Regions from separate parts of the Homo sapiens genome. Here regions 1, 3, 4, 5 and 6 are each linked to region 2. Evidence: promoter capture Hi-C in 16 types of primary human blood cells and fetal thymus (Javierre and others, 2016). All regions are on one chromosome and are shown on one strand. Each heading gives the region's core, a stretch centred on a gene start or on the middle of the fragment in contact. The rest is flanking DNA. Distances are from core to core; before and after follow the strand shown.

Region 1 (3,751 bases), core at 733-3,232, 1.9 Mb before region 2:
AACCCCATCTCTACTAAAAATACAAAAAATTAGCCGGGCGTGGCGGCAGGCGCTTCCCAGCTACTCGGGAGGCTGAGGCAGGAGAATGACCTGAACCCAGGAGGTGGAGCTTGCAGTGAGTCCAGATCGCGCCACTGCACTCCAGCCTGGGCGACAGAGCGAGACTCAGTCTCAAAAATAATAATAATAAAATAAAATAAAAAATGAAACCTCTAGACAATATATTGTAGAACAGATAGATACAAATGCGGGTCATCTCTTTGTTTTTGCTGAGTCTGATAACATTAAGGTGAACACTGAACAGCCATCTGCTAAGTAATTAAACCTGCCGCTTATTAATGTAACTCTTGTATTAGTTCAGCATTGATGAACAATTTAATGGGTTGAGAAATTGCAGATTCAATTTCCTGTGTCACTACTCTCTCGTGTTCCCATAATCAAGTTAGATATGTTTTTACCCAAAACTATGTTAAATCAAAATAGTGTTAAAAAGAAGAGTCAATATTCTGATATACCACAAGATGGGGATGTTACTCCATCTTAAATGTCCCCATTGCCCTGCTCCCGCATCCCAACCCCTGTTTTGTTTCAAGATATTTAAAACTCTCCTGAAGACTAAATTTGGGTTTTCTTTCTCAAAAATTAAGATTTCAGATCATCTATGTTTCCAAATGAAGTTAGAATCAAACCATCTATAAAACAAAATGGAAACAGGGATATCCACTTTAAAATGTGTCAGGGATACACGCTTTAAAATGAGTGTATCTTTGTTTTTCTGCAGATTATATGCATTTGAATTTTGAACGGAGCTTCATGGTGGGCGTGTGTGTGTGTGTGCGTGTGTGTGTGTGTTTTATTCCGCAGGTGCTTGTTATCCTGTCTCTTCATCCACATGAAAGCCTCCTACATAGTAATTTTGTGAGTCCCTGTAATTGTCTCTCCCTTTTAGCTGTGCTAGTTCACATTTGCAACTCCAGTATGAAGTGAGTATGTGTGTTTGCGTTTCTTTGTCTTGTGAACATGTGACTGTGTCATCCTTTGTTTCTATTCTTCCTTATCTCTTCTGTTTTTCCATTTAAAAAAATCTTAATACAGCAAAGGTATCTGGTAGTCTATAATGATGCTAAAAAATTTCTTTCCTTTCACCCACTATGTCTCTCCATAATAGTCACTAAAGGTCTGATTTTTAAAATTAGTTGTTATTATCAAATTGAATTAGGAAATGAGAATATTTTATATGTTTTATATGCTCCCTGGTGTGTCTTGCATGTATGTGTGTATGTTTATTGATTTTTTTATTCCTCTGGGTGCTTTGTATTTAATATAAGAGGGGTTCCTTATTCAATTGTTTTACATACTCCCTGGACACTGACTTAAAAGAAAATCTCCTTTTGATCCATTACGTCAGTCAGAAATCGCTGTTTCCAGGGGAATTTAAATTGGTTTTCTCAGCAATTTATTATTTTATAAGAAGCTTGGCTACCCTACTAATCAAAATTTTATATTCTTATTTAACATGGGATTAAATTGCCTAATTCTACTATCAAATTCATAAAATATTTTCTTTTAAAAAAGTAACTATGTTCTTTCACTCCTATTCAACATTACACTGAAAATCCTAGCTGATAAAACAGGACAAGATAAAGAAATAAAAGGCATAAGATTGAGTAGAATAAATAAAACTGTCTTTGCCCATGGATGACATGAATGTTTAGGTAGAAAATTCCAAAGAATCAACACACAAAAAAACTACAGGAACTAATAAGTGATTATAGAAGGTTTCAGGATACAAGGTTAATATACAAAAGTCAATTACTTTCCTATACCAGCAATGAACAACTGAAATTTGAATCTAGAAACGCAACAACATTTACATTAACACTGAAGAGTGAGAGAAGAAATACTTAGGCATAAACCTAACAAAATATATACAAATCTGTAATAGCAAAACTACAAAACTCTGATGAAAGAAGATTTAAATAAATGGAGTTATTCCATGCTCATGGATAGGAAGACTCAATATTTTCAAGATATCAGTTCTTCCCAGCTTGATCTAAAGTGTCAAGAAAATCTCAACCAAAATCCCAGCAAGTTATTTTGAGAATTGATTATTAAGAGATTCTAAAGTTTACATGAAAAGGCAATAGAGCCAGATTAGTTAGTGCAATGCTGAAGTGGAAGAATGAAGTCAGAGAACTGACACCACATGACTTGGAGATTTACTATAAAGCTATAATGATCAGAACAATGTGGTGGTGGAAAAAGAATAAACAGATAGATCAATGAATAGAGAGCTCAGAAATAGACCCACACAAGTATACTCAACTGATCTTTGACAAAGGAACAAAGGCAATTCAATTGAGAAAGAAGAATATTTTCAACAAATGATGCTGGAACAATGGAACATCTACATGCAAAAAAAAAAAAAGAAGCTAGACACAGACTTTACACCCTTCATAAAAATTAACTCAAATGGTTTCATAAGCTTAATTGTAAAATTAAAGCAATACAACCTCTAGAAAAAAAAAAAAAACAACAACATTGTAGAAAATCTAAGTCACCCTGGGTTTGGTGATGACTTTTTAGATAAAATACCAAACGTATGACTCATGAAAGAAAAAAGTAGTAAGTTGGACTTCATTAAAATTAAAAGCTTCTGTCGGGTGTAGTGGCTCATGCCTGTAATCTCAGCACTTTGGGAAGCCAAGGCAGGCAGATCACTTGAGGTCAGGAGCTCAAGACCAGCCTGACCAATATGGTGAAACACCATCTGTACTAAAAATATAAAAATTAGCCAGGCATGGTGCCACATGCCTGTAGTCCCAGCTACTCAGGACTCTGAGACACAAGAATCACTTGAACCCAGGAGGTGGAGGCTGAAGTGATCAAAGATGGCACCACTGCACTCCAGCCTGGGTGACAGAGCTAGACTCTGTCTCAATAAATAAATAAATAAATAAGTACTTTTACTCTGCAAAAGACACTGTTAATAAAAGGAAACAAGAAGACACAGACTGGGAGAAAATATTTGCAAAACACATATCTAATAAAGGACTGTTATCCAAAATATAACAATAACTCTTAAAACCAGAGACTCAAGGGGGAGAAAGAAAGGGACGTAGGGAATGATGAAGAGATGGTGTGAAAAGGATTTTTAAGCAAGTGAAACCATTGTGTATGATACTCTAATGATAGATGCATGACATTATGTATTTGTCAAAATTCATAAAACTATACAATACAAAGAGTGAATCCTCATGTAAATCATGACCCTTAGTTAATAATAATGTAACAATATTGATTAATTATAACACATATGCCACACCGAGATGTTAATAATTAGGTAAATTGTGGGGAGGAATATGGAAGAGGGGGTATATGAGAACTCTCTGTATGATCTGTATAATTTTTCTATAAACCCAAAAGTGCTCTAAAAGTAAGGGCTATTAATTTTTAAAAAAGGAATGTCACATTTTATACTACCTTTTAATGGCTATTAGTCAAAGTAGCCTTATTAAATTAATTGAAACTCTATTAGAATACTGCTAGTTTCAAAGAAAATTCAGAATAAGGTCCATCCATCTAGATAGTTTAGTCATCCAAGGTAATTTACTACATTTTAAAAGTTTTTATCACAAGACATTTGCATTACCTACTGGATCCAAGATTCTATGATTGGATGGGAAAACTCTAGTAAACATCTCCCTAATATTAAAGATGCAGTTATGGCCATAAATTCCATAAGAATTAT
Region 2 (3,591 bases), core at 1,092-3,591:
AACAGTGATGAATGCTTAAAGGTTTTGAAGTATAACTAATACAATGAAGACAGGTGCATTCAAGATTTTTATAAACTAGACACACAGATAATATAGAGCAGAAATAAAAACTTCTAATTCCTAAAAATACTATTTCGAAGAATCAGGGATTCTTGAAGATGGAATAGCCCCCAAAAGGACATCTGTTCCAATCTGTCATCGGTACATATATCTTTATCACAGCATCTACACTAATTATCCTATTTCTACTTTGATAATTTCAGGCCTAGGAAAATTCACTGCTTTAAAAAGTAGTCCTGTTTATTGATAGGCAACTATAGTTCTTAGTTGGGTCCTTGTTTTCAACTGAATTTTGGCTGTCATTCATTCCTTCATTCAACTAATATGAATAGAATGTCTGGTATGTGCCAACTTCTGGGTACTGGGATTCAATAATGAGCAAGATCCATGTCTTCACCTCAGGAAGCTTACTCTAGTGTAGGTGACTGGCAAAGACATCATGTGTCTGGCAAAGACAACATGATAAGTACTACTACAAGACCTTGTCTAGAAACCATGAGTATACAGGAGGTTCATAATTCCCCTAGTCCTAAGGGATTAAAGAAGGCTTCCTGAAGGAACTGATGTTTATTCTGCTAAGCTGCCATATTAATTTTTAAACCAATATCAGCTTAAAGGGTTACACAACATATAAACCTTAATCAATTAAAGAAAAGGAGAATAACCAATAGATAATTTACAAATACGAATTCCCAGCCTCTCAACTCTATTTGTTGAAATATAATCAGTCTTTCAAGGCTCTTCTCTGATGTTATCTCTTTCATTCTTTCTTGATCCTCTCATTTAGATCGCTTTCTGCTTTCTACTTTTTTTGGTGCTACATTTCACCTCTAACTTTGTTCTTGTTTTAGCCCCTTAAAAGATTATAAGCTGAAAGATAAGGACCACATTTAACTTATATTTATCTCCTACTTGTCTATAGAAGGCATTAAGAAGTATGTGTAGCATTACATTTAATTAAAGTCTTGTCACTTGATTTTGCCTGGAATGGATTCTGAGAAGTTCCAGAGTTAGGCATAACCCCAAGATACTGATTTCTTGATACCTAATCTCACAAGTTTAACAGTATACAATCTTAATGTGGTATTAAACTTTATTACTAGTGGCAATAGCACTAAACTCAAGTTTAAATGTATTACTCATGTCCAGTAACTTTTCTGGTCCTGTTACTTTATTGTAAAATGTAAGAATTTTACTAAAGTATTCCTAAGGCCAATCCGGCTTTTCAGTCACCCAATCAGAGACACCCTTGGAATCAGAGATATCCAATCAGAATTGCTCTGTGTTTTATTAATTCTCCTGGAGCTTCCACTTTTTCTTTGATTCTCAAACTAATTCCTGAACCTTGCAACACAAAAATGACCATACATCAATTCATTAAACACTTAACAGATGCTAATAAATAAAAGTTCACTTGTAATTATATCAAATATAGTAACCTTATACCACAGATCTTACCCTCTCCCCCAACATGCTTTTCCTTTCAATAAAAACTCCCTTTATATAAATTTTGAGTTTACAGATCCAGATACAAAAAATTATGTACAAAATTTTACTGGTATATTTAGTTTAAAAAGCCAAGCCTAGGCGCATCTACCCGACTTACAGTTAAGAAACAAAACTGATGACTTGATGATGATATTCCTGATATTCCATCAGGAATGTCAGGGTATGTTTCCTAACTTAAAGGGCATATCCTATTTTGAGAGAGATCCGAACTATGTCAACTCCTTACAAACAACTCAGTGATAGGCGGGGCTATAAACCTTACTGGTGAAGGAGGTTCAGATAGATTAAAACAACTTGCCCTAGATCAAGGACCCTTCAATGGAACTGAAAGGGCAGACGTTCTAATTCAAAAGTTCTACATTATTTTTCGCTGCACTATACATCTTACTGCTCTCAGCACAAAGCAGTGCAGATGTGCTGAACTCAAGGACCTAGGGGCGACACCTGTAGAGGGTCTGGCGACTGGGAGGGAGGGAGAGGGGATCCAGCTCCGGCACTCTGCCACCAGCCGGGAGCTCACAGGCCCGTGAGCTCCGCCTGCGGCCTTCCAAACAGCCAAGAGCGGAGAAGCGGCTTCGGTCCTACCTGGGGACCACGAAGCGGCCTGACCTGCAGGGCTCGGCCTGTGTCCACAGGCTACCCACCCCCACGGGCTCAGGAGTTCTTAGATGGCGCCGGTCCATCAAAAAGCGAGGTCCGGGACAGGGAATAACAACCCACCTGACAGAAGGGAAAATCGCCGCCTTGCATCTCACTTCCGGGTTCGTCTCCTAGCCTGCTCAGGATTGGCTCCTGCGTGAGGGCGGGGCCTCGCCGCTACTTTCCCCGCCCCCTCACTGCGTGCGGTAGCCAATGAGAGCCGAACTGGACTTGAAGCATCTACGTTATCCATGAAGTGTCGCGAGAGAAACGGACGCCGTTCTCTCCCGCGGAATTCAGGTTTACGGCCCTGCGGGTTCTCAGAGGCAAGTTCAGACCGTGTTGTTTTCTTTTCACGGATCCTGCCCTTTCTTCCCGAAAAGAAGACAGCCTTGGGTCGCGATTGTGGGGCTTCGAAGAGTCCAGCAGTGGGGTAATTTAGGAATCGCATTCGTCTCCTGTTTCTGCAGGTTCCCAGGCGGAAGCCCAGAGTTAACTGGAACCTCGGGAAGAGCGGGCCGAGTGGGCAGGGGAGGGGTCCTGGCGGGCTCAGCGTTCTGATTCCGAGGTTCCCTGCGGTGAGGGCGTGTTGAGGCTTGGAATCCCGACGGAATCTGGAGCTCCAGATGTGGTGGGGGTTGTCTCGCGGTGGCAGCCACTCTTCCCCAAACCTGGCTATTTTCAGTCATCCTGCTGGTGCTTAAAGGTGTTCCTCCGCAGACCACGTGTTTGTTTATTTACACTCGCTTTAAACGCGGGCCCGTTCCCTTTTCCAAACTAGCCAGGTCCTTTAAAAAAAATCGTGGGGTTTGAATAGGAAATACAGGATTGCCTCTGTTCTCCAGAGTAACCTATGCGTGCAACTTAAAAATATCTGCACATCTAGAGTTGTTTGTGTGTTGAACCAGAACCGTATGTGACCCTTTCTGCCCATTTATTTAGCATACATTAATTTCCCATAAGAGCACGGGAAAGGAAAATAGGAGTTTAATCATCTTGGTGAAACTAGGAAACAGGATGTACACTGGAGATATATTATTTTCTATGCTCAGTTCATTAAAAAAAAGTATAGTGGGTGCTTAGATGAAAATGAGACTTCTAAATTTGCCAGTCTAATTAAGACGTCTGTACCTTGTGCAGCGTAAATCATGTTGGTTAAATACGTGCAGGCTTTTAAAAAATGTGTTTTATGATGTAATTTTGTTTTTAGAATTTCTAGAATTTGGAATCGAGTGCATTTTCTGACATTTGAGTACAGTACCCAGGGGTTCTTGGAGAAGAACCTGGTCCCAGAGGAGCTTGACTGACCATAAAAATGAGTACTGCAGATGCACTGTAAGCACCTGACTTCTGGAATCCCTTGTTATTTGGGGTTTCTAAAGC
Region 3 (3,488 bases), core at 890-3,389, 1.3 Mb before region 2:
CAGTGTGAAATTTCTTTCTTTAAGCATTGAAAGATTATTTTACGCATAAGCTAGTTTAAATGTTTATATTGTTTTTACTATTATTGAAGTACATTTTTAAATGAGGCATTTTCCCAGTTATTAGCCGTTAAGCTTTTTTCGTTGGCATACCAGTTGCCAAACTCTATTTCCAGTCGAGCCATGTTTAGGAAAAAAAGAAAACTGAGAAGTTTTACTGATGGTCAGGTATTAACATTAAAATTATACTATTGTGAAGCAGATAGACTTCATCATTTCACCAAACAAACTTTAGATAGCTTGTACAATTCAGGAAACTGCAGTTAACATCTTCTACTTTTGTAATGAAATGTGAGTTTATTGTGAAAGTTATTTAAAATGGTGTGTGTGTGTATGTGTGCAAATATATACATATATTTTTTCTTTAATCTCTCAGTTAACTGAACTAAAGGCAGACTTTCAGTACCAAGAGTCAAATTTGAGAACAAAAATGAACAGTATGGAAAAAGCCCACAAAGAAACTGTGGAACAACTTCAGGTAACTACCATCATTTACGTAAAATGATAGGCAAGAAGGGCTAAACTTGAGTAATAGCATTCATTGACTTAGATTGTTATTGGTAGCCCTATTTTGTGCATAGTTGGTGCATTTCAGTTTTGATTTTGACTTTATAATCATTTTTAATCTTGATCTCATTAGAAGTTATTGTTTGAAATTACTTGAAAGGGGGATTCAGTACTTTAATCTTGAAAACTTTTGCCTAAACTTCAAATGGAGTTTTTGGAGGAGGGTATCATTGGAGTGTGTTCAATTAATTATTGGGCTTATAGCAAAAAATTAAAAATCAGATTAATGAAACTAAGGTGAAAAGCAGGTCTTCAGTAGCAATCATTCCTCACATTAATATTTCCTTCCAGATAATGGGAAAGGAGATGGGTGTATAAAACCAATTCTTAAGGACCTGGAGTGGCAAAAATGTGTGCAAAGCAAGAGAGTTTACTTAACCTGTGTACAGTGGTTCGCAAAGTGCCAAATAGGGTTCTGCTAAATGCTAACAGGTAGTGATCCACCTGAACCTCAGAGTACTGCAAAGTAGCAGTTTAAGTATACAGAACAACTGAATGGTAAAGTCAAGAGTCACCACAGTAATAATCTGATGTCTGGCATGCAGAGATGGTGAACATCCAACATGGATACAGAATGCTACCATATTAAGCTGCTTCTCTTCTAGGTTTCATACATTTAGAAATCAGACCACACTAAATTAATTACATGTTCTCTTTGATTTATACAGTCTCACATTTGTAAAATTAGTCTTTAGTAACAAAATTTTTAAGGTGAAAGAAGTTTTAAATGTTAATGGAAGATGGCAGCACACAGACGTCAGACTTGGGAGAGTACAGCTTCAGAAGGAAGGAGTTAATACTGTCCTGTTTCATTTTGTTTTTTTTTTTTCACATTGTAACACCAAAGGATATTTGCTATTTCTTTCTTTTGGTTTTGTATTATTCATACTTCTTTGCAAGTAGCTTAAATTAGTAGGATTTAGGAACTTGCTCAAATTCGAGGTACAGATTATCTGGTCTTAATCCCTATCATACTATTACAAAGACTGTTGAAAAAGGAACCTCATGTAGAACCTGAGACATAGTAGGCATTCAAATAATTTGTTGACTAGGTGGTGATTTATGGAAATGCCCATCAGCCCTCTGTTCTGAGAGATTGCCCGTATCATATATCAGATTCTTATATATTAGTCAATGTTTTTATCCACCAGCAAGTATTATTTTTAATTTTATGTTATTCCTGTTTTTCTTACTCAGTTATTAATGCTGAATGATTACCTGGAACAAAATCTTCCACCTGGTGATCTTTGATTTAATGTAATGTAACCAAAGCTCTGAAGTAAATCCAGAATGAGATAACAGAATAACTGCAATAGGTGCTCAGATATGTTTTAACTTAGTGCTCCCCACTGTTCAAAAGAGCAGTTTGTGTGTTGGTTTTTCTTTTTTAAAATCATAGTTGCAAATACATGGGGTCATCTTTGACTTAGCCTGATAGATATCTTAGGCCTACCTCCTCTTGGTAATTGAAGTTTCATGTAGTATAAAAGTAACCAATATTTAAATAGGACATTTTGACATGATTTTACATATGCTGTCTTACTTGTTGCAAAAACTGGGTTATGTGATATGCCCATTTTACAGAGGAAACTGTGATCACACAGTAAGCGGTGACGTAGAAATCTCTGTCTTCTCACTCCAGTTTATCTATACTTTTCCCTGTCCTACACTAGTTCCCACCACTTCAGGTTCCTCAGGTTTTCTATTTCATCCTTCCTATCAGGCCACTTCCCTGATTTTTTTGTGTTATGGCTAGAGACAATCTGTCATAGCTGAGTGCCATCTTTTTACCTCACTTCCTTTAGCAACCAAGTGATACTAGTAGGATTCTTTACTGAGGTGAGGAAACCGGTAATTTTTTTTTTATCTTTATGTAATAAGGAATTGAATCCTGTGACACAAGATGGATCTTGCTCTAATAGCTAGTAAAATATTTTTAACTGCCAAACCTACGACAAAACACTGAACATCACATGAAAAAATTGTTCAAAATGTCACCCCAAAATACCCCAAATATTGAAAATACTAAGAATATCAAGTTAAAACTCTTATTCACTTAATTAGGTAAGTGGTTAAAAGGAAAAGGGACCTAACATTTGAGTGCCTTCTGTGTACCAGGAACTGTGTTAGGCTAAGTGTTTTATATATTTGATAAGTTCCTTCAACTCATTTTGAGTTCGGATGGTGGAGTTTGTGTTACAAATGAGAAAATATGCTCCAGGTTATGTAGCTGGTAAGTAAGCCAGGATTTAAAGCAGGATCTATGTAATTCTTAATCCTGATATTCTTTCCTTTGCACCAACATGTCTAAACTTTAAAACTTAGCTTTCTTAAGAGTCTGTAAAGAATTTCATTGATTTTTTTTTTTTTTTTTGGCTGGCTGCAAAATGAAGTAATTTTAGGATAAAACAATTTAAATGTACATATATTGAAATATGGCATAAAATTCATTTTTAAAGTATTCAAATTAGAATAATTTGGACTTGTACTTAACAATTGTGTTATTTATTTACCATAAAGACTTTTGTCTTATGTAATTTATTAAGAAATATCTTTATTAGTGATATAAATATATTAAAAGCAAATTGGAAATTAGCTACCAAAGCATTAAATGGAAAAATTGCTTTGAAGACCTAATGTTCAAATTATTGTATTTTGTACTTAAAATATGAAAATTATAAACACTTTATTTCTTGATAATTGAGATAAGAACTTGGAGATTCACATTTTAACTATTTTGTATCAGTATAAACATTTTTAGATAAATATAACTTAACAGATCTAGTGGAGATCTTTTTGAGTCAAATTTGCAGACTCAAAATTTGAAATTGATACTGAATTTGAAATTGAAGTTTTTCGTTACC
Region 4 (3,478 bases), core at 738-3,237, 1.3 Mb after region 2:
GGCAAGGTACAGGCAGGTGTGGGCAAAAGGTATAGATGCTTCAAAGTATTATTAAAAATGTGTGGATCCCCATGAAGCTCTACTATACTCAAGTTTACCAGGATATTTGGGTAGGAATGGGGCTGATGAGCCTCATCATTTATAAAATCCAGAGTGCTAATAAAAGAAGTAAAGCTTTGAAATCTCCGGTGCCTGCTCACAGTCATCACTAACCAGCTTTACCTGGAGTACACATGAAATGAAACATCAGTCAGCTTGTAAATTTAAGTAAGCTGTGTTAGACTGTACACTTGTTTAAGTATCGCTTACTTCATGGCATGAATAAATGGATCTGTGAAATTCACTGAAAAAAAAAAGAGAGATCAAGATCGGGAGTACGGTGGAAACAGAGGTCATTGCTGGGTAAACTCAAAAGATTTAGTACACAGGACAGAGACATGGCTGAGGCACTGGGATTTTATTCTTACTAGATGCTGGACAGTTATTGTGGCTTCAATGAGATAATGCACATAGATACAGAGTTCTTACATGGCACATAGTTAAAGCTTACTATCACTTATTTTTAGTTTTTGCACCTTTGAAAGCTAATCAACTAATTTCCTCTAGTATAGAAGCCGGTGAACAAAAGTCAAAAAATGAATTTCTTTACTGGGAATAAAAGTTGTGCAAGTTGTGTTTGTTCCACCAACAATTTCCTTTGATCCAAATGGCCAGTATAGAAAGATCAGCATTCTTCTACAGTGGCTAGAGAACAAACAATGATGCCAAGGGCACATATACCAGGAAGAGACCACTAATGACCTCTCACAGGCCTCCCAAGGTAGCATCATGACCTGAAATTACCCATGCAGGCCAGGAACTGTAATTTTATTCATCCATAGGAAGAAACACTTATCTCAGGTGTTAGTTCTGCACAATAATCAAACTTACAAGAGTGAATACAAACCAGTGTATCTGTTATTTGTAGTTTTAAATTTTTATTGTTTTTATTTTTCAATAATTTAATACAATCAATCAATAAAAGAGGGCCATGTATGGGCCACTGGTGATAGTGTGTTACTAAACACAGATATTGGATAGGCAATTAGCAGTGTCTGCTCCAACCATGGCATCAGTTTATTAATTTTCAATAATAAATTACTATAAGAATTCTGGAGTCCTTATGATCAGTGCCAAGTGCCATGAAAAGTCCAATCAAAATCAGAAACCATTAATTTATTCCTTCAGAAGAAATTACTGCATAGGTTTATCTGACAAACACAGTCTTCCTTAAGAGATTAGCTTAACCATAATCAAGAGGAAGGTTGTCCTGAATGCAGAATACAAGCTAAGAAAGTTGACTGTTTAATGGCTTCAGGGTAAGAAAGTTTCTGGCCCACAGAACTGGAAATACTGGCCAGGTCACAGCCTCTCTAGGACAGTGCTAAGATGGAAATTACTAACATTGGCTTCAGTGACTTTTCCTGCTTTTTCTGTGCCCAAGTCACAAAAATCACTTTTTAATGTATGTATTATTTGCTTAGTCAAGTTAATATATCTACCTTGGTTATAGCAAACTTTTGCAAGCCCACAGGCCAGTTTTTCATCTCTAAAGAGTTTTTGTGTATCTCTGCTTTGATTTTGTAGCCTGTTGATTTCACTGTTTCTCCTTGTGCAAGCATCTCAAGTTCTTCTGACCACTTCACTGACACCCCTATATACAGAGAGCAACTATCCAATCTCCCTGCTTTTTGACATTCCTCTTATCTTGTATATAATACATAGGTAATTCCATGAAGTTCCTCAGGATCCCTTCTATTCAGTATATTGTTGACTGAAGTCTTTGGTCATCACCTAGGTCTCTGTGCCATTAATTACCTCCTTTATTTCTTGTATGTTAATTTATTACTCCACTGGATCCAGCTTCAGTCTACAAATATAGTCAAGTCTCCACTGCCCCCAAAACCCTGCCCTCAAGTCTGCAACTCTCAGGCTACTTTCCTTTCATGGTCGAGGGACTGGAAACAGCACTGTCATGCATCATTGCCCTCTTGCATGTATGAACACACCTTGCAAACTGGTTCCTACAAGTTCCACACTCCAGTGGAACTTGCTTCTTGGAGTAGAGCTAACCTTCAGTGACCTCTTCTCCCTGGGGTCTAGTGCTAGCCCCCGAAAGGAGTGAATGCCTTGCTTTGCTGACATTTTCCCTGGCCATAGTTAAAATAGGGACACACACTCAAGCTAGGTTACTTCCCTCTCGTAGGATATGGAGCATGGACTGGAGAGGTGCAGAATTTTCTGGAGCAGAGTTGTATTAATGGCTGCACCACCTGGGAGAGGGGTCATAGATTCCTAGGAGGCCCCCAGAGCTGCCCTGGTTCCTACCCTTCCCGAACCTTGGTTGTTCATCTCCTCCGCTGACTCTCTGTGAGCTCTCCTAGAATCCTCCTTTAGGCACTGCCGTTAAATTCCTTTTTTTCTTTCTGTCTAAGCTAGTGACAGTCAGCTTCTACCCTTTACAACCTAATTAACCGGTTAATTCTTAACCAGTTAATTCTCTTACCCTTTTTAACAATTCAGAAGCATTGAACACTGAAGAATCCCCTTCCCTGCTGAAATTGTTTTTCTGTGTCTTTGCTGCCTGTGCATTCTTGTGGCTCCTTGTCCTGCAGCATTTTCTCAGGCCCCACTGTCACTCCTCTTCTTTCCCTCACCCTTGAATGAAAGACTTCCTAAAATGTTTTAAAATTTTTTTTGTTTTGCTTCCTAAAATGTTTTAAAAATTTTTTTGTTTTGCTTTGAGACAGTCTCACTCTGTCACCCAGGCTGGAGTGCAGTGGCATGATCTTGGCTCACTGCAGGCTCCACCTCCCGGGTTCAAGTGGTTCTCCTGTCTCAACCTCCTGAGTAGCTGGGATTACAGGTGTATGCCACCATGCCCAGCTAATTTTTATATTTTTTAGTAGAGACAGGGTTTCACCATGTTGGCCAGGCTGGCCTTGAACTCCTGATCTCAGGTGATCCGCCTGCCTCGGCTTCCCAAAGTGCTAGAATCACAGGCATGAGCCATCGCCCGGCCCTTCCTAAAATATTATTTGTGAGAATCTTTTTTACATTCTCACTTATTCAAATCAACAAAACAAAATTTGAATGAGCCAGACACTCCACCTCAATTCAGAATATTTTGAAGACATAGTCTAGAGAACATGACTATATATATGGTCATATTCTATTGGCATAGTCAAGCAACAAGACATCCAAGTTCTAGATGTACATTTCTGGTTATCTAAATGTATATTTCTGATTCAACTCACCTAAGATCACCTATTACCATCTCAAATTTAATATGCTTAAAACTAGACTCATTATTTTTGCCCTCAAATATGATCCTTTTTCTATCTTTCTAATCTCAATCAATAACAGTACCATCCTCCCAGCATAAGCTTAAATAGCAGAGTCATCTCTTATTCCCTCTTCACATCTGGTCAATGCACAG
Region 5 (3,477 bases), core at 530-3,029, 1.3 Mb before region 2:
GTTAGGGATGAAGCTGGTGAGGCATATAGGGTCTAGGTTATGAAAAATTAAGAATTTATTATGTAAGCTATGAAGAGATGCTAAAGCTTTAATTTTGTGGGAGAGATGATGGATAATGACAAATGACAGAAATGTTGTTAACTGGGGATGAGGAGGAGAAAACAGGCAGGGAGATTAATGAGGAATGTACTATGAACATCTGGGCTACAGATGATGAAAGCCTGAACCAAAGCAATGAGAACACAAAAAGGCAGAAAAAACAGTATGCTTTTGGTATATTTCAGAAGCAAAAAAAGGTCTTCATTCCGGACTAATAGTGGGGATTACAGAGCAGTCACTGATGACTCAAAGTGTTTTAGCATCAGTAATTTGGTGGATGATGATGTTCAACAATCAATATAAGGAATACAAGAAAAGCATAATATTTTCTGGGGGCTGAAACTGGAAGCAAAGGGGAAATATATTTTCCTCTAATGGCAAAATAATGGAGGACAAAGTTAAGAATTTTAAAGCAGCAAGAAAACACAAATAACATTTATTTCGTTAGGCTCGATTACCTCTGCTGTTGCTTTCTGGATAGGCAAGTGTAGGCTTACTTGGGGAGCGTCGTAGATCACTATTAAGGAAAGGCTTATCCGAAGGATATACTACATATGGAGATGAAGAATGCCGAACCATGCTTCCATTAGACCTTGATGGCTCAGCAAAGCTGTTCTAAAAAATAAAGACACAAATTACCTTTCAAAAGTGTGAACCACAAATAGCAGATTTAAATCACAAATATTTATGACTGAGATTGACTGTCCATACAGACAACAGAAAAAATCCACTGACTAGAAACAATACAATTCAATCATTAAAGAAATACAACTTTTAAAGTGTTTCATATTAGTCTGAATATAGCCATATGCCAGACACAAGAAGAAAATAATGTTCATACAACTTGAATACAAATGCTGTGCAGAAATACTTAAATGATACAATGAATGTAAATACCGCAGTTAAAAATATATACTGTGAAATATACGTTCAGAAAAATAAAAACATTATTTTTACAGGACCAGAAACTGCTACAAATGACTGAATTACTCTATTCCCCATCCACAAACTACTACTTGAATATTTATAGTATTCAAAACTCCAGAAAGAAAATAAGGCACTGTCCTTGCCTCAAATACTTTACATTTAATTAACAAAAAAGAAAATAATTAGAAAACATTAAGGCCCATCAAACACTCAAACATAAAACTTTATTTCCACAGTACACCATTCTGTCATGAATGAGATTCTGTTAAATTTAGGATTCCACATAATAATTTCAACCCAGGAGATGCTAACTGTGGAGTTTTATTTGTTGTAGGCGACTTCCTACTGACAGATGGTCCTAGACTGGGGGAAGTAACTAAGAAGCTGAGGGCTAAGGTGGAAGATATGACTACCAGCTATTCAAAATGTTCATCCACTTTCCTTCCTCAAACGGCCACAGCAAACTATGTTTTTCAATTCTTACCTTTGAAGATTTACATTTACCAGAATAATCCGTGTTCATAAAAGTACAAGAGCACAATGAATATTTAAAACAGTAAACAATCTCCTGAAACAAAGGCTATCGAAATACCTGCACTGTATTTAAATCTTATTTAAAATTAAAGATTTTACTTCCATGTTAAAAATCATGCAAATTTCCAGGTGATTTAAGAAAGCAAATATAAAACATTTTCTATTTATATAAATATAAAACACACTATGGCTATGACAATCAAAAGTGGGGACAAAGAGCTTAGGAGGGTAGGGCCAAGTCTTAAAAGTGGTACTCAAATAAATAAGTGCTAAGTCTACTATAGTATGTTCATATATAACAAAGACTAGTATTTGTCATTTTCCAAACTTAATGGCAAATTGGCATCTGGTTTTACAGGTAACTGGAAAATAGGATGAGTTTTCAATTCTTTATAATATTGTCAAAGGTCTTGCAAAGCATCCTCAATTACTGCATAGCTTAATTTTAAATGTCACAGAGAACCTCAAGTTTTCATTGGTTATTTACAACCCACCAGAATCCTATCATTTAATATTCAAAAATATTAAGTGACTTGCCGACCACCCTCTGCCCAGTCAGGGGAATCCCATTAACTATGTGATTAACTAACAAACTAGTTCCCCAAATGGAACTACCTCTGTTCTACATTTTGTATGTTAGTGGGCTTGCCCTTTACTATTTTATATCACTCCTCATGACATATACATTTTTATTATCTGTATGCCCTGTGGTATAATAAAAAATATATTTAGTCTTTTGTCCTTGGTTTCAGATACAGATTCAAAAACTCCTAGAATTTCTTAAGTGATAGGGTATCCTTGTTAGGCTGATGAAGGGACTCAAGGTAGGGCACCTAGGTAGCTTCAGGTTTGAAGGCATCTTCTGGAAGCTGGTTGCCAGAAAAACCAACCACTAGATTATAAAGAGCTACAGATTTCAGCCAGGCATGGTGGCTCATGCCTGTAATCCCAGCACTTTGGGAGGCCGAGCTGGGCGGATCACTTGAGGTCAGGAGTTCGAGACCAGCCTGGCCAACATGGTGAAACTCTGTCTCTAACTAAAATACAAAGAAATTAGTCAAGTGTGGGGGTGTGCCCTGTAATCCCAACTACTCAGGAAGCCAAGGCAGGAGAATCACTTGAACCCAGGAGGTGGAGGTTGTGGTGAGCCAAGATTGGGCCACTGCACTACAGCCTAGGCAAGAGAGTGAGACTCCGTCTGTGTGTGTGTGTGTTGGGAGGGGGGTGGGGTGGGGGGGAAGAGTCACAAATTTCAGCCCTAGGCCCTGACCTTAGGGGAGGTAAGGGACAGATTGAGCCCAGTGACCAGCGGACAATAATTTACTCAATTATGTATTTATGTAATGAAAGCTCAATGAAAACTCTTGAATAATGAGGTTTGGGGAGCTTCTAGATTGTTGAACATACTGATATGCTGGGAAGGTGCTGCACCAGAGGATACAGAAGCCCTTTCACACCTTGCCCTATGTCTCCTCCATTTGGCTGTTTCTGAGTTGTGTCCTTTATAAAACTGAAATTGCTTAAGAACAGTCTTTCCTGAGTACTGTGAGCCGTTCTTGGAAAGCTGCAGGAATCCCATAATTTGTAGTCAGCTGAGCAGAAATGCAGATGCTCTGCGAACTCTGACTGACTTGGGGGCAGGCAGTCTTGTGAAACGGAGCCCCTTAATGTATGGGGGTCTGAGCAACATCTGGGCAGTGTCAGAATTAAAATAATTGTAGTACACCCAGTTGGTGTAGAATTTTTGCTGGAGAAATTAAGTTCTAATAAAGGAGTTTTATTATGTTCAATAAATCTGTTGAATATTAACTATACATTTCCTCCGCAAAACAGGAAACTGCACATTACTTATAAAAGATTATCCTTTTCAACAAAATCACTACAACCCTTTAAGAGATCACCAAAAGCTTTTGGGCT
Region 6 (3,612 bases), core at 599-3,098, 1.3 Mb after region 2:
TTACTTTAATCTCATTATAAGAGAGTTAAAGGAGTTTCCTGGAATAATTCAATAAAAAAAATTTTTGTGGGCAAGTAATTGTACGTATTTGTGGAGTACATAAGATATTTTGATATAAGCATACAATATGTAATGATCAAATCAGGATAATTGGGATATCCATTATCTCAAATATTTATCCTTTTTTTGTGTGTGTTGGGAACATTTCAAATCCATTTCTCTAGTTATTTTGAAATACATAACAAATTATTGTTAACTACCGTTGCCGTATTGTGCTATAGAACATTAGATCTTATTCCTCCTACCTATCTGTATTTTTTGTACCCAGGAATAATTAAATTTTTGTTAAGGTTTTAAACGTGAAGGATGAGATGAATTTAAAGCAAATATATATATGAAAAGCTATTTTTCACAGTAAGTCATGTTTAATGTTTTCTAGAAAATGTAACATTGAAAATTAATGACTTTAAGAAGTAAGGAAAAGTGTAATAATAGGGATCACACTGTTGAACAAAGTTAAATAAATATGATAGCTGCTAAACAATGTGAGTTTGTTCAGAGTGACGGAGGTCCCAACTAATTTTTACTTCGGATTCTGAACATTGTAATACTATTTTTAAAAACTTAATTCTGTGAATTACAAAACTAGTATTTATAGGTAATTTTAACAATTCTAGATTTCCAGGTTTATTTTAAATGATATTAAAAATAAACTCTTCAATAATGCCATTACAAATAAACATCATTTAGAGTTCATATTGTTGTTAAAGATATGAAAAAACTTACCATTTTCCGTACTTTCCTTACTGCTGTGATCTCTTGGGCAGTGTGCTTTAAATAACAGATTGTTCAGTTTTTGAAATATTGGTAGTGATAACTATCTTTATTGAGGACAGATAGTATGCTTAGTACAGCACAGAACATACTGCACACTCCCTGACAGAAAGAAATCAGAAAGGTCAAATAACTGATAATTTGGATAAGCTAAATGAATAAAAGCAAATGAACTCTAGTCAGCAAGGGCAGTGGAGTACATTTAGGAATAAAAATATTAACATACTGATGGTTGAAACTGAAGTTCATACAACTAATAATGATGGTTGTTATGGATTAAATAGTCCCCCCACCCCTCAATTTATATGTTGTCATAGCCTTGCATACCTCAGGATGTGACCTTATTTAGAAATAGGGTAATTGTAGCTGTAATTAGTTAAGATGAGACCATGGCCAGGAGCAGTGGCTGATGCCTGTAATCCCAGCACTTTGGGAGGCTGAGGCACCTGAGGTTAGGAGTTCGAGACCAGCATGACCAACATGGTGAAACCCTGTCTCTACTAAAAATACAAAAATTAGCTGGGCGTGGTGGTGCACACCTGTTATCCCAGCTACTCTGGAGGCTGAGGCAGGAGAATTGCTTGAACTTGGCGGGGCAGAGATTGCAGTGAGCCAAGATCGCACCATTGTACTCCAGCCTGGTCAACAAGAGCAAAACTCTTGTCTAAAAAAAAAAAAAAGGTGAGGCTTTGCTGGAGTAGGGAGGGTCCCTAATCCAATATGACTGGTGTCCTTATAAAAAGGGGAAATTTAAACACAGACATGATTACAGAGAGAATGTCATGTGAACTTGAAGATGACTGTCCATAAACCAAGGAGAGAGGCCTGCCTGGAACAGAGCTTTCCCTCCCAGCCTTTAGAAGGAACCAACCCTCCCAGCACTTTTTCAGACTAATAGCCTCTAGAACTTTGAGGCAATAAATTCTCTTGTAGTACTTGATTATGAGAGCCCTAGGAAACCAATGTGATAGGTTTACAAGAGTACCAGTGTATTTTGTATAGAGTATAACAGAAAAGGATATAGGCTTTATCCAAACAGAAGGTGAACATAATAAATTTCTAGAGTAAATGTGAGATAGTAGATATCCCAGTAGACCTAATACTGGGGAAACAATTTTTACTGTGTATAGTTCTAGACCGTGCCACCTTTGAAACTGGAAAACAAGAAACAAGGAAATCCTACAAAACAATGTATGGAGAATGTCCTAAAGATTAAAGGGTTAGAAAAACCAGCCAAAAGAAAAGTTGGGAACTTTGAATTATAGAAAATCCTCATCAGTTTTGACTTCAGGAATTTGGAACTGATAATTCTGTGAATTTTACTCTACACATATTAGTTACGTTATTAGAAGAAGAATATGTAAATAATTTTATAGACTGTTTTCAAGCATCTTCCAGTATCTTAAGGCATCACTTTACTCTTATTAAGAATGAATATGCTGAATTCCAGTTGGCACTGGGCTAATGGAGCCTGCTAAAATCCTGATCTCTCAACACATCCTCCCCTAAAACCTGTGAATTCAACTTGAAGCACAAGTAAACCATTCATGAAATTACTCTTTTAGCATTGCGAGGAGATCAAGGATACCATGAACCTCAAATTATCTATAAGTATAAAAACAGAAAATTTTTGTTGCTGCTACAAGCATGGAGAGTGGGGGAGGGGAGTCTTTAGTATTTCGTTGGAAAAGAAGAGCGGGGAGCAGGAAACTGGATCAAGCACCATGAAAATCTCCTTCAGAAAGAGAAAGTCTAATTTAAACTGTTAAACGTCTAAACAGAGGTCAGGTCTAGAAGTTAGTAATTCATAGCACTGAGTACAGGAATGTGAATTTGAGCAGGACTGAAGGGGGAAGCCTTGACAAAACATTGCTTCTGGAGGTGAGAGATAAATAGAGCAGTGGAGATGCCCCTCAGATGGCAAGGGAGGGAAAGAACAAAGTAATGGGGAAAATTGGTGGTCCTGCAGAAATGAAAGAGAACTAGAAGACATGCCAGCTGCTTTTGCTCACCCCTAACAGCTCAACATTGTCTTTGAAATAAACTGAACTTCACTATAGTGACAGAGGGAACACTCTTGAACTAGGATTCCTGTGTATGAAATACTTAGAAATAGGAAAAATCACAAATAAGAAATAAATTACAAGATGTAAGGGAGAATGTATTGAAATGAAAATTTAATGTGTCACTTAAGGCAGATATGAATGAGAATGAGGTAAAGACAGACATCAGAAGGGTCAGAGATATAAAGTGGTTGAATGGAAGACAGGCAAAGAAGACCCAACATGCATGTAATTGAAATATCTAAAGAAGAAGTATTTGAACCAAATACATATTTAAAGCTATTATCCAAGAAAACTTTATAGTAGAAATAAGAAAAAACCTAAATCAACATATCAAAAGGGGCCCACTGTAGCCCTGGGAAAACTGACTTAGCATGGTCAACCCCAAGACATGTAGTAAAGTTACTAGACTTTAAAGACAAAGAAAATATCTTCAGGAACTCTAGGAAAAAGAACAAGTTACTTAATGGCTGAGAAAATTAGTCTGCCATCAGATTTCTCAAAAGTAGCATATAAAAGCAAGGCAAAAGTGGAACAGCATTTTCAAGAAACTCGAGGAATGAAAGTGTGAGCCAAGGATTTTATATCTAGTTGTTCCTCAAGTATCCAGGCTATAAAGAAAAACAGTGTGAAACGTGTAAAAACTCAGGGAACACTGTGCCCATGAGACCCTCCTGAGGAATCAGTTAGAGCAGTGGTCCTCAAAGTGTGGTCC

What was found. Contacts are between HindIII fragments. The CHiCAGO score rates a contact against its expected background, and 5 or more counts as called.
Region 1: a contact is called between a fragment that was not itself captured here and the fragment with the promoter of ANKRD49 in region 2, in 8 of 17 cell types (naive CD4 T cells, fetal thymus, naive B cells and 5 more). The highest score is 9.8, in naive CD4 T cells.
Region 3: a contact is called between a fragment that was not itself captured here and the fragment with the promoter of ANKRD49 in region 2, in 1 of 17 cell types (fetal thymus). The highest score is 5.4, in fetal thymus.
Region 4: a fragment that was not itself captured here is called in contact with the fragment with the promoter of ANKRD49 in region 2 in 4 of 17 cell types (total B cells, total CD4 T cells, non-activated CD4 T cells and 1 more); the score reaches 7.6 in total B cells.
Region 5: a contact is called between a fragment that was not itself captured here and the fragment with the promoter of ANKRD49 in region 2, in 4 of 17 cell types (naive CD8 T cells, neutrophils, total CD8 T cells and 1 more). The highest score is 9.4, in naive CD8 T cells.
Region 6: a contact is called between a fragment that was not itself captured here and the fragment with the promoter of ANKRD49 in region 2, in 2 of 17 cell types (total B cells and naive B cells). The highest score is 8.0, in total B cells.

What each region holds. Positions count from the first base shown.
Region 1 is chr11:96,423,754-96,427,504 of GRCh38, reverse strand. No RefSeq gene overlaps it. Among named protein-coding and RNA genes, the nearest start is that of JRKL, 36 kb to the right of the region's middle. The HindIII fragment of the contact is 1,011 bases long and covers 1,477-2,487 here.
Region 2 is chr11:94,492,734-94,496,324 of GRCh38, reverse strand. It overlaps ANKRD49 (ankyrin repeat domain 49), which reads right to left and starts at 2,341. Exons shown (of 3, transcript NM_017704.3): 1 at 2,290-2,341. MRE11 (MRE11 double strand break repair nuclease) reads left to right here and starts at 2,481. Exons shown (of 20, transcript NM_005591.4): 1 at 2,481-2,534; 2 at 3,419-3,543. The coding sequence starts at 3,524. RefSeq lists an enhancer at 2,042-2,131. The HindIII fragment of the contact is 5,313 bases long and covers 469-3,591 here.
Region 3 is chr11:95,772,969-95,776,456 of GRCh38, reverse strand. FAM76B (family with sequence similarity 76 member B) reads left to right here. Exons shown (of 10, transcript NM_144664.5): 9 at 434-535. Among named protein-coding and RNA genes, the nearest start is that of FAM76B, 15 kb to the left of the region's middle. The HindIII fragment of the contact is 4,010 bases long and covers 135-3,488 here.
Region 4 is chr11:93,218,188-93,221,665 of GRCh38, reverse strand. It overlaps LOC112268080 (ATP synthase subunit ATP5MJ, mitochondrial-like), which reads left to right. Exons shown (of 1, transcript XM_024448785.2): 1 at 1-358. The coding sequence starts at 36. The coding sequence ends at 212. Among named protein-coding and RNA genes, the nearest start is that of SLC36A4, 22 kb to the right of the region's middle. The HindIII fragment of the contact is 2,880 bases long and covers 548-3,427 here.
Region 5 is chr11:95,796,469-95,799,945 of GRCh38, reverse strand. It overlaps CEP57 (centrosomal protein 57), which reads right to left. Exons shown (of 11, transcript NM_014679.5): 2 at 558-714. Among named protein-coding and RNA genes, the nearest start is that of CEP57, 7.7 kb to the right of the region's middle. The HindIII fragment of the contact is 3,381 bases long and covers 89-3,469 here.
Region 6 is chr11:93,186,968-93,190,579 of GRCh38, reverse strand. The region is part of intron 1 of SLC36A4 (solute carrier family 36 member 4); the gene reads left to right. Among named protein-coding and RNA genes, the nearest start is that of SLC36A4, 9.2 kb to the left of the region's middle. The HindIII fragment of the contact is 5,393 bases long and covers 1-3,612 here.